3 separate regions of the Homo sapiens genome follow, and all the other regions are linked to region 1. Evidence: promoter capture Hi-C in 16 types of primary human blood cells and fetal thymus (Javierre and others, 2016). All regions are on one chromosome and are shown on one strand. The core of a region is centred on a gene start or on the middle of the fragment in contact, and the rest is flanking DNA. Distances in the headings are between cores, read along the strand shown.

The links. Contacts are between HindIII fragments. The CHiCAGO score rates a contact against its expected background, and 5 or more counts as called.
Region 2: a fragment that was not itself captured here is called in contact with the fragment with the promoter of CXCR4 in region 1 in 14 of 17 cell types (activated CD4 T cells, non-activated CD4 T cells, monocytes and 11 more); the score reaches 25.4 in activated CD4 T cells.
Region 3: a fragment that was not itself captured here is called in contact with the fragment with the promoter of CXCR4 in region 1 in 8 of 17 cell types (monocytes, activated CD4 T cells, non-activated CD4 T cells and 5 more); the score reaches 9.9 in monocytes.

What each region holds. Positions count from the first base shown.
Region 1 is chr2:136,116,172-136,121,278 of GRCh38, reverse strand. It overlaps CXCR4 (C-X-C motif chemokine receptor 4), which reads left to right and starts at 3,130. Exons shown (of 2, transcript NM_003467.3): 1 at 3,130-3,233. The coding sequence starts at 3,219. RefSeq lists an enhancer at 4,139-4,208 and a silencer at 4,339-4,508. The HindIII fragment of the contact is 7,141 bases long and covers 2,696-5,107 here.
Region 2 is chr2:135,954,603-135,959,709 of GRCh38, reverse strand. The region is part of intron 4 of DARS1 (aspartyl-tRNA synthetase 1); the gene reads left to right. Among named protein-coding and RNA genes, the nearest start is that of DARS1-AS1, 28 kb to the left of the region's middle. The HindIII fragment of the contact is 1,984 bases long and covers 1,741-3,724 here.
Region 3 is chr2:135,973,175-135,978,281 of GRCh38, reverse strand. The region is part of intron 3 of DARS1 (aspartyl-tRNA synthetase 1); the gene reads left to right. Among named protein-coding and RNA genes, the nearest start is that of DARS1-AS1, 9.4 kb to the left of the region's middle. The HindIII fragment of the contact is 5,778 bases long and covers 1-5,107 here.

The sequences.
Region 1 (5,107 bases), core at 1,881-4,380:
ATGTAATAAAAGTAATGGCACCTGCCTTGTAGAGTTATTGAGGGGATTATATGAGGTCAGTTGCACATAACAAGCGCTCAGTAAATGCTTGAGTTTTGTTTGTTTTTTAAAGAACATCATAGAATAGTTGAGAATAAGGTTTAGGTAGCCCAGTGGAAATAGAAGTTTAAGATTAGCCCATTGGAAAACAAGCCTTCCTTGAAAGGGGAAAGGACTATTGTGAAAAAAGTCTGACATCTTAGTAGATACTTTAGAAGTGGAAACATACATGAAGGAGGCCTTCTGATTCCCTTTTTGTCATACAATTTGTTGGCTTTTTTATGAATATGAAAATGATTCATGTCTATTACAGAAAATCTGGAAAGCATAGAAAAACCCCAGGAAGAAAGCAAAAATCAAATATAATTCTGCACCAAGGAAAACGCCTATAAACATTTTGGTTTTCCTCCCTATATTTTCCAAATGCATATTTTAACATAACTGAGATCACACTATATACACAATTCTGAATCCTGCCTTTTGCACTTAATGTTTCATAAGTATTTCCCCATGTCACTAAAAATTCTTCACAAATAACATTCGCGATGTCCATATGGAATTTCAGATGTGGATGAACCAAAATCTTGTCAACTATTCCACTAACAGTGGTTATTTAGGGATGTTCAGACATTTCACTATTTAAAAAAAAATGTTTCCACAAATACCTTTGTGGCATAAGTTTTTATGAGTGGAGTTACTGTTCTGAAGTTCCTGCTGAATAGAAAATGCTTTCCAGTGAGGCTGTCCCAAGCCACATTCCCATCAGTGACAAGCGAGAGACAGCTGGTCTTTTCAAATCCGGAGACCAAATATTATCTTTGAAAAAAAATGGATTTTTGCCTAATTTGGTAGTCACCAAATAGCATCTCATTGTTCTTTTAATTATCTGCTTCCTTTTAGTAGAGATCCCTAAAAAGATCTGAAAGGAGTCTTCAGATAAAGGAAGGAGCTTTCTTTTGTCTGTCTACAATCAACAAATATTTATTATGCAAACCATTTTGCTCCGAGTTTTCTCCTCTTTCCCTTTTTGGACAGATTTGGGAGATCTCACCTTTCAGGTTTTAGACATCGTGCAGGGAGGAGTTTTGAGGTAGGGTGCAGCTTACGGTCCAGGATAAAACATACTGATTCTGCCACTACCAGGCTTTGTGAAAAGCAAGTCATGAAAACGCTCTGAAATTCTAGACCTTCAGTAGATAGGATCTACCGTGTCTATAAAAATATGAAGATCCTTAAGTTTTATTAAAGATTCGAAAAAAGTAAAAGTGTTTTTACGGTTTTATTTTCATTTTTATTTCTTACCGTTATCGTTTATTATAAAGGATATTATAAAGGATACAGATGAAGAGATACGTAATGCAAGGCCTGTGAGAAGGGGCGTGGAGCTTCCGAAACCTCTTCCAGCCACCACCCTCCAAGAACCTGGAGTTTCTTTTTTTTTTTTTAATTCTACAAATGTAATATTAGAATTGATTTTATCTGGCCATTAGTGTGTGTCCTAACTCGTTCGTTTCTGAGAGTCCCATCTCCCGGCCCGGATATCATCTTTCCTGTGTCAGTGAAAGTGCAGAGTAGATGAGAACCTTTAACCACCAACATTAGGGAGGGGTCCCAGACAAAGGGGGAAAGTCATGCTCTGTAGAGAAAAGGTTCCCTGCCTCCGAACTACCTCTGGAACACTCCAGACTGAAATGTTTCCTCTTTTGATATAGAAAAGAGGGATCGTGTGTAGAGTGCAGTCTGGGCAATCCCTCTCCTCGGGACCATTTCGGGGTGGGGGCCTCTGGGGTCCGTGTCGCGACGCACGCGCCTCGGTCCCAGCTATCTCCGCAGCGGCCACCCCGCCTGCGGACGCAGTTTCTCGGCCCCGCCCCACACTCGCTCCCCCGCCCCACCCAGTCTCCGCGCCGGAGGGAAGTGGCGCGAGGGGGAAAGCACTGTCTGCGCGCCCACTGCAAACCTCAGCCAGTCTGAGATCGCTTTAAACGTCTGACCCCCACCCCCACTCCGCCCCGCCCAGTTCTTCAACCTAATTTCTGATTCGTGCCAAAGCTTGTCCTCTGCTCAAAATCGTGGAAGACGCCGAGTATGGGGACCGAAGACCTGGGTTCAAGCCCGGCTTGGAATCCCTGCCCATCCCTGGCATTTCATCTCTCCGGGCTTATTTGCTGGTTTCTCCGAATGCGGGCCTTGTCTGGTTCACGCTGGATCCCCAACGCCTAGAACAGTGCGTGGCACGCAGTTCGTCCTTCTATAAATATCGGACTAAATGCATCTCTGTGATGGTAATACCCACACGGTGTTGTGAGAATGAATGAGTGATTCTGTGCAAGTTCCTAGTGATCTGTTACAAAAAGTACTGGTCGCTAAATTACTCTTATAATAAAGCATACTTTTAGGATAATAAAGCACTATTCGCGAATTGGTTACCGCTATTATGAAATTACTGAGCAATACATATCTACATCTGATCAGTCTCCAGAATTATGCCAAATCCTACCTTCTTCTGAAAGTATCTCCTAATTATCTGCACCTGACCCTAGTGATGCTGTGAATGTGCAAGTATAGCTACATCCTCCGAAGGAAGGATCTTTACTCCTTTTACCTCCTGAATGGGCTGCGTCTGCTGAAAGCGCGGGGAATGGCGTTGGAAGCTTGGCCCTACTTCCAGCATTGCCGCCTACTGGTTGGGTTACTCCAGCAAGTCACTCCCCTTCCCTGGGCCTCAGTGTCTCTACTGTAGCATTCCCAGGTCTGGAATTCCATCCACTTTAGCAAGGATGGACGCGCCACAGAGAGACGCGTTCCTAGCCCGCGCTTCCCACCTGTCTTCAGGCGCATCCCGCTTCCCTCAAACTTAGGAAATGCCTCTGGGAGGTCCTGTCCGGCTCCGGACTCACTACCGACCACCCGCAAACAGCAGGGTCCCCTGGGCTTCCCAAGCCGCGCACCTCTCCGCCCCGCCCCTGCGCCCTCCTTCCTCGCGTCTGCCCCTCTCCCCCACCCCGCCTTCTCCCTCCCCGCCCCAGCGGCGCATGCGCCGCGCTCGGAGCGTGTTTTTATAAAAGTCCGGCCGCGGCCAGAAACTTCAGTTTGTTGGCTGCGGCAGCAGGTAGCAAAGTGACGCCGAGGGCCTGAGTGCTCCAGTAGCCACCGCATCTGGAGAACCAGCGGTTACCATGGAGGGGATCAGTGTAAGTCCAGTTTCAACCTGCTTTGTCATAAATGTACAAACGTTTGAACTTAGAGCGCAGCCCCTCTCCGAGCGGGCAGAAGCGGCCAGGACATTGGAGGTACCCGTACTCCAAAAAAGGGTCACCGAAAGGAGTTTTCTTGACCATGCCTATATAGTGCGGGTGGGTGGGGGGGGAGCAGGATTGGAATCTTTTTCTCTGTGAGTCGAGGAGAAACGACTGGAAAGAGCGTTCCAGTGGCTGCATGTGTCTCCCCCTTGAGTCCCGCCGCGCGCGGCGGCTTGCACGCTGTTTGCAAACGTAAGAACATTCTGTGCACAAGTGCAGAGAAGGCGTGCGCGCTGCCTCGGGACTCAGACCACCGGTCTCTTCCTTGGGGAAGCGGGGATGTCTTGGAGCGAGTTACATTGTCTGAATTTAGAGGCGGAGGGCGGCGTGCCTGGGCTGAGTTCCCAGGAGGAGATTGCGCCCGCTTTAACTTCGGGGTTAAGCGCCTGGTGACTGTTCTTGACACTGGGTGCGTGTTTGTTAAACTCTGTGCGGCCGACGGAGCTGTGCCAGTCTCCCAGCACAGTAGGCAGAGGGCGGGAGAGGCGGGTGGACCCACCGCGCCGATCCTCTGAGGGGATCGAGTGGTGGCAGCAGCTAGGAGTTGATCCGCCCGCGCGCTTTGGGTTTGAGGGGGAAAACCTTCCCGCCGTCCGAAGCGCGCCTCTTCCCCACGGCCGCGAGTGGGTCCTGCAGTTCGAGAGTTTGGGGTCGTGCAGAGGTCAGCGGAGTGGTTTGACCTCCCCTTTGACACCGCGCAGCTGCCAGCCCTGAGATTTGCGCTCCGGGGATAGGAGCGGGTACGGGGTGAGGGGCGGGGGCGGTTAAGACCGCACCTGGGCTGCCAGGTCGCCGCCGCGAAGACTGGCAGGTGCAAGTGGGGAAACCGTTTGGCTCTCTCCGAGTCCAGTTGTGATGTTTAACCGTCGGTGGTTTCCAGAAACCTTTTGAAACCCTCTTGCTAGGGAGTTTTTGGTTTCCTGCAGCGGCGCGCAATTCAAAGACGCTCGCGGCGGAGCCGCCCAGTCGCTCCCCAGCACCCTGTGGGACAGAGCCTGGCGTGTCGCCCAGCGGAGCCCCTGCAGCGCTGCTTGCGGGCGGTTGGCGTGGGTGTAGTGGGCAGCCGCGGCGGCCCGGGGCTGGACGACCCGGCCCCCCGCGTGCCCACCGCCTGGAGGCTTCCAGCTGCCCACCTCCGGCCGGGTTAACTGGATCAGTGGCGGGGTAATGGGAAGCCACCCGGGAGAGTGAGGAAATGAAACTTGGGGCGAGGACCACGGGTGCAGACCCCGTTACCTTCTCCACCCAGGAAAATGCCCCGCTCCCTAACGTCCCAAACGCGCCAAGTGATAAACACGAGGATGGCAAGAGACCCACACACCGGAGGAGCGCCCGCTTGGGGGAGGAGGTGCCGTTTGTTCATTTTCTGACACTCCCGCCCAATATACCCCAAGCACCGAAGGGCCTTCGTTTTAAGACCGCATTCTCTTTACCCACTACAAGTTGCTTGAAGCCCAGAATGGTTTGTATTTAGGCAGGCGTGGGAAAATTAAGTTTTTGCGCTTTAGGAGAATGAGTCTTTGCAACGCCCCCGCCCTCCCCCCGTGATCCTCCCTTCTCCCCTCTTCCCTCCCTGGGCGAAAAACTTCTTACAAAAAGTTAATCACTGCCCCTCCTAGCAGCACCCACCCCACCCCCCACGCCGCCTGGGAGTGGCCTCTTTGTGTGTATTTTTTTTTTCCTCCTAAGGAAGGTTTTTTTTCTTCCCTCTAGTGGGCGGGGCAGAGGAGTTAGCCAAGATGTGACTTTGAAACCCTCAGCGTCTC
Region 2 (5,107 bases), core at 1,483-3,982, 160 kb after region 1:
AATCCATGTGATGTGTTTAGAAGCAGACACGTTAAAGTACTCCGCAAATAAGTTATTCCTATTATTTTGGATCTTCTCAGAAACTCCTGGGACTTGACTAAATAACAGCGATTGACTATATCAGATGTCAACCATAGCTTAATAGCTAAAAGAGCTACTTTCAAATGGTCTCCCAAACAGAACTTAGTTCACTAATGCCCTCATAAAATTAAAGAACATCTTTTTATCATTATTTTATTAAAGGCTTTCATCCAAATGGGATGATATACGGGCGATCTTTTTTTTTTTTTTTTTTTTTTTTTTTTTTTTTTTTTTTTTGAGACGGAGTTTCACTCTTGTTGCCCAGGCTGGAGTGCAATGGCGTGGTCTCCGCTCATCGCAACCTCCTACCCGGTTCAAGCAATTCTCCTGCCTCAGCCTCCCCAGTAGCTGGGATTACAGGCATATGCCACCACCATGCCCAGCTACTTTTGTATTTTTAGTAGAGACGAGGTTTCTCCATGTTGGTCAGGCTGGTCTTGAACTCCCAACCTCAGGTGATCCGCCCGCCTCAGCTGTTCAAAGTGCTGGGATTACAGGCATGAGCCACCGCAGCCGGCCATGGGTGATCTTTCTTTTAGACAAGGGAAGAATATAGGTAATTTAGCCTAGATTTTTTAATTCCTGAAGTGGAACTCCATAAGGATCTAGATGCAGTTCAGGCTTAACTAAATTGTGACTTGATTTTTTTTTTTTTAAGCAAAGGACATGCAGCTATTTTTAGTCCCTTTAAAAAATGGACTTTATATAAAGTAGCAATGTGTAGGAAAAGGTTGAGCTGTTCCAAATTATAAACCTTGTCACTGGTTATATGTAAGTGAATGGAGCCAATTTTATACAATAGGTTCAACATGTGGTACATAGATAACTATTATTAAACTTTTGGCACTAGCATGTTAAGGAATCGAGCCTGAATAATTACCAGTAGGTGGGTTAATGGCTTTTGCTATCTTGCGAAAAAGGAAAATTCTTATGGCTAAGACTCGTTGGCAAAAAATGATGAGTTTTTAGGTTTTGTAGTTGGTTAAGATAATTTTCTTAGGAACATGATTTTATGTTCCAGATGGGTCAGTCAGTTTGTCCTTTCTGTGTGATGTAACCTATACTTCTAAGATAGTTCAGAAATCCTGATCCTTCTTGGTAGGAGAAGTCTACTTTTAGACTTCGGCAAGAACTTTTTAGAACTTTTTTAGGGAAAAGATATATGGGGTTTTTCTTTGTCTTTTAAAATCCTTTTCCTAAAAATTGTTAACTGTGTTTTAGCGCATAAAATGGGTATGCGCTAAAATTGTGAAAGCAAAAATTAAGGTAGCTTTCATACATTTATCTTTGAGGTCACTTGTTTAGGCAGCAGATCACTAGTAGTATAACAGTTGGATGCAAGGAAAAATGTTTCTATTTCTAGTTCCAGTTAAGTTCAGATACTTGATAATTCATTTGATACAAATTTTAACTAACAATGCCACATTAACTTTCACATAAGTAAGACAGTTTTATAAAATGATTGACTGATACTTTATTTAAATTGTCATTCTTAGATTACTCTTTGCAGAATTTTGGTTAATTGTGAAGCTGAAATATCCTGACTCTACCTCAAAGTTAATGTTTTAGGTAACTGAACAGGTATTCTTCCCATTACTAGTATTGAAGTCAGAATACAGAAACAAATTAATTATGGAACTGGCTCTAAGGCTACAAGCTTTATAGAGTAAACCAAATGTCAGCAATTTAGTTTTAGTGAAATTAAAAATTAATATTACTTATTAATTTGAATTTTGTTTTTATTTAAAAATTTATTTCTATTTTAAAGTTAAGGGCTATAAGCATAAGCATTTACAGTAGTTTGGTATTTGTAGGTCTTTAAGTAACATGACAGAACTTATTTAAGTGATTAATGGGGTTTGCTGACATTTTTTATTCCACTAAAGAGAACCTATAGAGTAGTTTTAGAACTGCTGGTCTGTGCCTTGTTGAGTAGTGCATACTTCTCACCACGCTTATTTTGGATCAGCTGGGCATGGTGGCTCATGCCTGTAATCCCAGCAATTTGGGAGGCCAAAATGGGCCGTTCACTTGAACCCAGAAGTTTGAGACCAGCCTGGCCAACATGGCGAAACCCCATCTCTACCAAAAAAATTTTTTTTAAATTAGTCGGCCGAGCGTGGTGGCTCATACCTGTAATCCCAGTACTTTGGGAGGCCGAGGCGGGCAGATCACGAGGTCAGGAGATCAAGACCATCCTGGCTAACACCCGTCTCTACTAAAAATACAAAAAATTAGCCAGGCATGGTGGCGGGCACATGTAGTCCCAGCTACTCGGGAGGCTGAGGCAGGAGAATCGGTTGAACCCAGGAGGCGAAGGTTGCAGTGAGCCAAGATTGTGCCACTGCACTCCAGCCTGGGCGACAGAGCGAGACTCCGTCTCAAAAAAAAAAAAAATTAGTAGGATATGGCTGCATGCACCTGTAGTCGCATCTACTCTGGAGGCTGAGGTGGGAGAATCACCTGAGCCCAGGAGATCCAGGCTGCAGTGAGCTGTGATTGTGCCACCGCAGTCCAGCTTGGGCAACAGAGCAAGACTCTGGCTTAAAAAATAAGTTATCACAGGCCGGGCGCGGTTGGTCACACCTGTAATCCCAGCACTATGGAAGGCCAAGGTGGGTGTATCATCTGAGGTCAGGAGTTCAAGACCAACCTGGCCAACATGGTGAAACCCCGTCTCTACTAAAAATAAAAAAAAATAGCCAGGTGTGGTGGTAGGCGCCTCTAATCCCAGCTACTCGGGAAGCTGAGGCAGGAGAATTGCTGGAATCTGGGGGATGGAGGTTGCAGTGAGCCGAGATCACACCATTGCATTCCAGACTGGGCGACAGAGTAGGACTCCATCTCAAAAAAAATAAATAAATAAGTTATCATGGTTTAAAGAATGATTTAAATCTTTAATTTTTGCAAAGCATCAGTGGACAGATGGGTGTAATAGAGGTAGAGAGAACGCAAGGATTTAGTTCCCTACTGACTAGTGACAAAGAGTCCCTCATTGACCAAACTCTCCTCAGATTCCTTTGAAAGAACTTTCTGCTCCGGTAAGCCTCGACTTTTTTACTTCATGTTTATGCCTGCATTGTTCAGTTTTAGTAAGAATCCTGCTGAGTTGCTTTAACTATAACCCCTGTCATCCCCCCTCAGTATCTGATCACCCGCCATAGCTAATTGGGTTCCTTCTCCTCCACCATCCCTCAGGTGATGTCTGATCACCCTCGCCTGCCTTCAACAAGAATCCTGTTAGGTCATTTTAGCCAGAATCTTCTGTTTCTCCTGATGGCTCCTCTTAGTAATTTTCCATCCACTGACTCTATATTCCCATCTTTGGGTCTAAGTTTCCACTTGCCAATCGTGTATTCAAAGTTAAGCCTAGTTCTATACTCAGATCTCTTTTCCCCTATTGCAATAATCTTGAATAAAATTTGTTTTTACCACTTTAAGTATTGTCCATCTCTGGTTTTCCCTGACACAACCATGTGACTTCTTACATTGTTTACTGTTTGCTTATCTTAACTCATTCTTCAAAGCTAAGATGCTGATTCAAACACTTATTTCTACTTGCGTGAGAAATATAAAAGTCTGAGGTCTAGTGTGGTACTAATTCACTATAATTGAAAGAAGTGCTTGACCTATAAATGAAGCTTATGCTTACCTTAGAATTGAAACATATGGCTGGGCGTGGTGGCTCACACTTATAATCCCAGCACTTTGGGAAGCCAAAGCAGGCAGATCACTTGAGCCCAGAAGTTCAAAACCAGCCTGGGCAATATGGTGAAACATCATCTCTACCAAAAAAGTCAGAATAATTAGCCAGGCATGGTGGTGTGAGCCTGTAGTCCCCAGCTACCTGGGAGGCGAAGGTTGCAGTGAGCTGAGATTGTGCCACAGCACTCCAGCTTGTGTGACAGAGCGAGACCCTGTCTAAAAAAAAAAAAAAAAAAAAAAAAAAAAAAAAGATTTTTATTTTCAAAAGGTGGTGGTTTTATTATTTTTTGAAGTACTTACCTAATTTATTTTTGTTCTTTTGATGCTGTTTTAATTAGCAAATACGTGGTTTCTTGTGTTTGGGCATTTTGTACTTCTTTGCCTCAGTGAATTGTACATTTAATTTATAACATTGAAGCATTTTATGTTGGTGCATTATTTGAAGAACTGGTGTGTGACAACTTTATGGCATGCCTCTTTTCTAACTAATCTTTTTTCACCCCCCTTGCAAAGATTTAAAAATTACTCATTTGAATGTGGGTGGTTATGTAGATCTGTAAGTATATTTATCATTGAGTATATAGTAAGATTTAACACATTATTTCTGACAACCAGAAAGCTAAAAAATGTATCGGTTTTGCTGAAAATCTTTAATAGTCAAGTTTCTGTGTTAAAAATTTTAGTAGTTTTTGTTGATATAAGGATATATAAATACGCAAATGGAAAAACTTAATGTACATAGTGTCTCTTTCACCATTATTGACTTTTTTTTTTTTTTTTGGTGGTGGTAATAAATGGAAATAGTTTAGAAAAATATGAGCCGATGACTACCCAAAAATAAAATTTGGTCATCCCCCAGTCTCTACCAACTGCCAAGTTTATCCCTACTGTTAACAAGACAATCAGAATACATCAATATATAGGATTTCTGTTATATTTTAGGCCTTTATTGAGACTATCTAGTATAATGAAATACTTCAAGGTGCTTAAATCTGTGGTACCTAGAATGATGAGAAATAAAAGGTAACACTATTAGTGTAAAGGTTATGCTGCCCATCTTCTGTCATCTTGGGTTTATTGATAGATTATGTGAATAATGATGGGCTACTCTTCCTCGACCTCTGTAGCAGGTGTCATGTATTTTTTAGATGAAAGGTCATGGAAAACCCATCCCCTACCACATACCAGACTCGTTGCATGTGAAATATTATTTTTAATATTTAAGAAGCTTAATCTGAAATTAAAACTCAGTATAGTAACTACACTTGCTTTATTTTGCCACCTTTCCAGTGTCTAGCATGGATTTTTATGCTTATTTGGA
Region 3 (5,107 bases), core at 1,549-4,048, 140 kb after region 1:
TAATATTTTTATTGTAGAATTAATACATGCCCATTATTTTAAAAATTCTACTTTGCTTCTATAGTATTTAATATGTCCCATGATATATAGCATTTCTTTCCTTTTTTCTTTTTTTCTTTTTTTTTTTTTTTTTTTTTTTGAGACAGAGTCTTGCTCTGTCACCCAGGCTGGAGTGCTGTGTTGCGATCTCGGCTCACTGCAATCTCTGCCTCCAGGGTTCAAGTGATTCTCCTGTCTCAGCCTCCCAAGTAGCTGGGATTACAGGCATGCGCCACCATGCCTGGCAAAGTTTTGCATTTTTAGTAGAGACAGAGTTTCACCATGTTGGCCAGGCTGGTCTTGAACTCCCGACCTCAGGTGATCCTCTCGCCTTGGCCTCCCAAAGTGCTGGGATTACAGGCATAAGTCACTGCACCCAGCCGATAGAGCATTTCTTAATTGTGTTTTATAATTTTTTTATTGTAGAATTAATACATGCCCATTATTTTTAAAATTCCAGCACTTTATACATACATTTCACTCTTAGGGCCACCATTGTTAAGAGTTTGTCTATTCTTTCAGTATCCTCCCCTGATGAATACTGACAGACTTTGAGAAGAGTACTGGTGGAGTTTTAAATTTTCAAATAATGTTGATTTGCCTTCCTGAAAGGTTGGGCCATTTATTCTGCCAATAGTCAGTCACATTGTATTATAATCCTTCATTTACTCGTCTCTCTCCCGTTATACTGAGAGCCTTTGTTCTGTCCAAATGGGGCACTTTTTCCTAAACATAGTAATTTAGCAAATTAAAAGATAGAATGCATGCTACAAGTAAGCCTGAACCAAGAATATTTCCCTTCACACCCATCCCTTTATTTTACGACTGCCATGTCTGTTTCTTCTTAACAGTTAAAACTCATGAGTGATACTTCCCAGTGGTTATGAATAAGACCTTTTCAGTGAGACAGATGTGTGTTTGAATCCTGGATTTGTGCTTACAATCTGTTTACTCTACGCAAATTGCATAACCTTTCCAATCCTCAGTGTCTTCTCTTAAAACAAGTATATATTAATACCTAGCTTATAAGATGTTATGTAGTAATATTTATAAAGTATTTAGCTCTATGCTTGGTGCAGTGTAAGCCTTCGATAATTGAGTCATGTTAATGAGCATGACAGTTACTTACTTGCCTTCCATCGTAGTTTTTTGTGGGTCTTATTTCCTGTTGTCAGCTCTTGGAAGGTGCTACTGCTTATTTTCTTGCTTTGTTTGGTACACAACACATAATAAGAACCCTACCGAATAATAGATGAATAAAACAGGTGTTTTATACACATATAATAGAGCATTGTCTTCTGGGTCTTGTTCTTGCTGTCCAGTAGCTCACTCTAATTGAGATCAGCATGTAAGTATGAAGCATCACGTAAGTGAAAAAATATACAGGTTGAGTATCCCTTATCCAGAATGCTTGGGACTGGAAGTGTTTTGGATTTTGGATTTTTTTTTTTTTTTTTTTTGGAATATTTGCATTACTGGCTGAGCATCCCAAATCTGAAATCCAAAATGCTCCAATGAGCATGTTTTTTGAGAGTCATGTCGGCACTCAAAAAGTTTTTGGATTTTGAAACATTGCACATTTTCGGATTTGAGAATGTTCTTCCTGTACCATCTGCTAGTGTTTTTTTTTCCATTTGTGACAAATTATTTTAGTCTCTTAATTGATAGTGCCTCCTGCCTCAAAACATGAAACAAATTGCAAGGTGTAAGGACTTTATTGATGATATGAGCTAATCATGGTGGGTGGATAGGGAGAATTTATGAGTGTCAATGTTATGAACAGACTGAACGGTTTAAAACTTTCTTAAGAGTTTTTAATTGAGGAATTTCATAGCACTTTTTATTAGTATATTAACTGTTATTCTATCTCAAAAAAATAAATTATTTATGGGTATTGGGGAATTTTGGAGGGGCTAAATGCTAATTGCACTATTTTAAAACTCAAACAGCACAAAAACTAAAGAATAAAGCAGAAAGTGTAATTCACTTGTTCTGCTCCCAAGAGAATAAAAACACTGTGAAAGTTTGAAATGATAGAAATTGCTTTAAACAAAAATTGATACTTTTTCTTTTACAAAAGTGAGTTCATATGCTGTATCAGTGTTTTATGTAGCTCTACATGATCATTTACAATATTTTTAATTTGCAAAATTGAAAAATTTATTCTAGATTATAAAAGTAATAACCATTTTTTGTTAAATACTCAAGCATTATAGAATTAAATCAGGTATAAAGTGGAAAACTGACTGTAATCCTTCTTTACAGATTTGTGGGTTTTTTTGGTTGGTTTGTTTGAGGTGGAGTCTTGCCCTGTCACTCAGGCTGGAGTGCAGTGAGGCAATCTCAGCTCATTGCAACCTCTGCCTCCTGGGTTGAAGCAATTCTCGTGCCTCAGCCTCCCAAGTAGCTGGGATTACAGGTACCTGCCACCACATCCAGCTAATTTTTGTATTTCTAGTAGAGATGAGGGCTTTTTTTTTTTTTTTTTTGAGTCAGGGTCTTGCCCTGTCACACAGGCTGGAGTGCAGTGGTGTGGTCTCGGTTCACTGCAGCCTCCTTAGCTAGGACTACAGGCATGCGCCACCATGCCCAGCTGATTTTTGTATTTTTAGTAGAGACAAGGGTCTCACCATGTTGGCCAGGGTGGTCTCAAACTCCTGACCTCAGGTGATCTGCCTACCTCGACCTCCCAAAGTGCTGGGATTACAGGCTTCAGCCACTGTACCCAGCCTCAGATTTGTTTTTATGAGGAAGTTGAGGGTCAATGTGAGTGTATATGTGTGTTTGAGCTAAAATTTTTATAATACTCTGTATTATTTTATAACTTGCACTTTTCTTTATCTTTTGGATATCTTTTCATGTCTGTGCGTATAGGTTTTTTTTGTTTGTTTGTTTTTTGAGACAGAGTCTCGCTCTGTCGCCCAGGCTGGAGTGCAGTGGCACAGTCTCCGCTCACTGCAAACTCCGCCTCCCAGGTTCACATCATTCTCCTGCCTCAGCCTCCCAAGTAGCTGGGACTACAGACACCTGCCACCACGCCCGGCTAATTTTTTTGTATTTTTAGTAGAGACGGGGTTTCACTATGTTAGCCAGAATGGTCTCGATCTCCTGACCTTGTGATCCACCCACCTCAGCCTCCCAAAGTGCTGGGATTACAGGCGTGAGCCACTATGCCCGGCCGCATCATTGTTTTTTAATGGTTTCATAGTATTTCATAGTATGGCTATATTTTTTTACATATATTTTATTTTTCTCATTTGTATAAAGTTCAGATTTATCCATTGTTGCTTTAATTTGTGTTTCAGTCATTGGTTAGATTAAACTTCTTTTCCTGATATGTTAACTATTTTGAACTTCTTTTATATATTGTTTGTTCTTGCCCTGTTCCTATTTTATTAAAAAAGAACAAATAATTTTCTCCAAGTCTGTTTGCATTTCAGTTTTTTGAGGCGAAGAGAGGCATTACAAATGATGATCATTATGTCCTTTTCTTTCAAATGTTTGTATCTCATTTCTTGTTTCTCTTTGCAATACTAGTAGGTTCTCTAGTACTTCAGGGATTCACACAATGAAGAATTTTTGAAAGAGCAGAAATTCCAGTTCTAAATGAATGATTTTGAGTTTAAGGTTCTACATAAAATGTCATTAGAAAATAAATGGCAAAGTTTTAAAAAGTAGATTAAAAGTAGTTTCCCAGCCAAGTTTTCTGTTTGTCAGGAGGAGATGTTGAATTTTATCAGACCTTTTTCTAGCATTTCTTCCCTTCAAAATATAATTGTGTTATGTGATGTATATGTAGAGAGGTTCATTATACTATTCACTCTGCTTTTGTGTTTGTTGGAAATTTTCTGTGTAATAAAATAAATTTTAACGTAGTTGATCCTCATTATTCGTGGACTGCATATTCGCAAATTCACCTACTGGCTAAAATGTATTTATAACCCCAGAACACTTGCAGCACTTTTGTGGTCATTCTCAGTCATGCCAGACCTGTACATGTGCAGAGTGGCAGAGTATTTGCGTCATCCAGTACACACATTCCCAATTAAAGTCAAACACAGTAATGTTCTGCCTTCTTGTTTCAGCTCTCATACTGTAAATAAGCGTCCCTTTCACAGTCTCTTTAATGCCACATTTATGCCTTTTAAAAAAGGACTTTTAAAAACTTTTGTGTGGGTACATAGTAGGTGTATATATTTTTGGGGTACATAATAGGTGTATATATTTATGAGGTACTTGAAATATTTTGAAACAGGCATGCAGTGTGTAATAATCACATCATAGAAGATTGGGTATGCATCCCCTCAAGCATTTATTCTTTGTGTTACATACAATCCAGTTATATTCTTTTAATTATTTTTATTTTTTAAATTTTATTTATTTTTTGAGACAAGTATGGCCCAGGCTGGCGTGCAGCCGTGTGATCTCAACTCACTGCACCTGTGGCTCCTAGGCTCAAGCCATCCTCCCACAGCCTCCTGAGTAGCTGGGACTACAGGCACATGTCACCACGCCCAGCTAATTTTTATTTTTTATTTTTTCATTTTTTTTGTAAAGATGGGGTTTTGCCATGTTGCCCAGGCTGGTCTGAAACTCATGAGCTCAAGCTATCTATCCACCTCAGCCTCCCAAAGTGCTTGGATTACAGGTGTGAGCCACCACGACACCCAGTCATTCTTTTAGTTATTTTTAAATGTACAATTATTATTGGCTGTAGTCCCCCTGTTCTGCTATCAAATACTAGGTCTTACTCATTCTTTTTTTTTTTGGTACCCATTAATTTTCCCAGGGCCCCCCACCTTCAACCCCTATTACCCTTCCCAGCCTCTGTTAACTATCTTTCTATTCTCTATATCCATGAGTTCAATTGTTTTGATTTTAAGATCCCACAAGTAAGTGAGAATATGCGATGTTTGTCTTTCTGTGCCTGGCTTATTTCACTTAAAATGACCTCCAGTTCCATCTATGTTGTTGCAGATGATAGGATCTCATTCTTTTTTATGGCTGGATAGTACTCCATTGTGTATATGTAGCACATTTTCTTTATCCATTCATCTGTTGATGGATA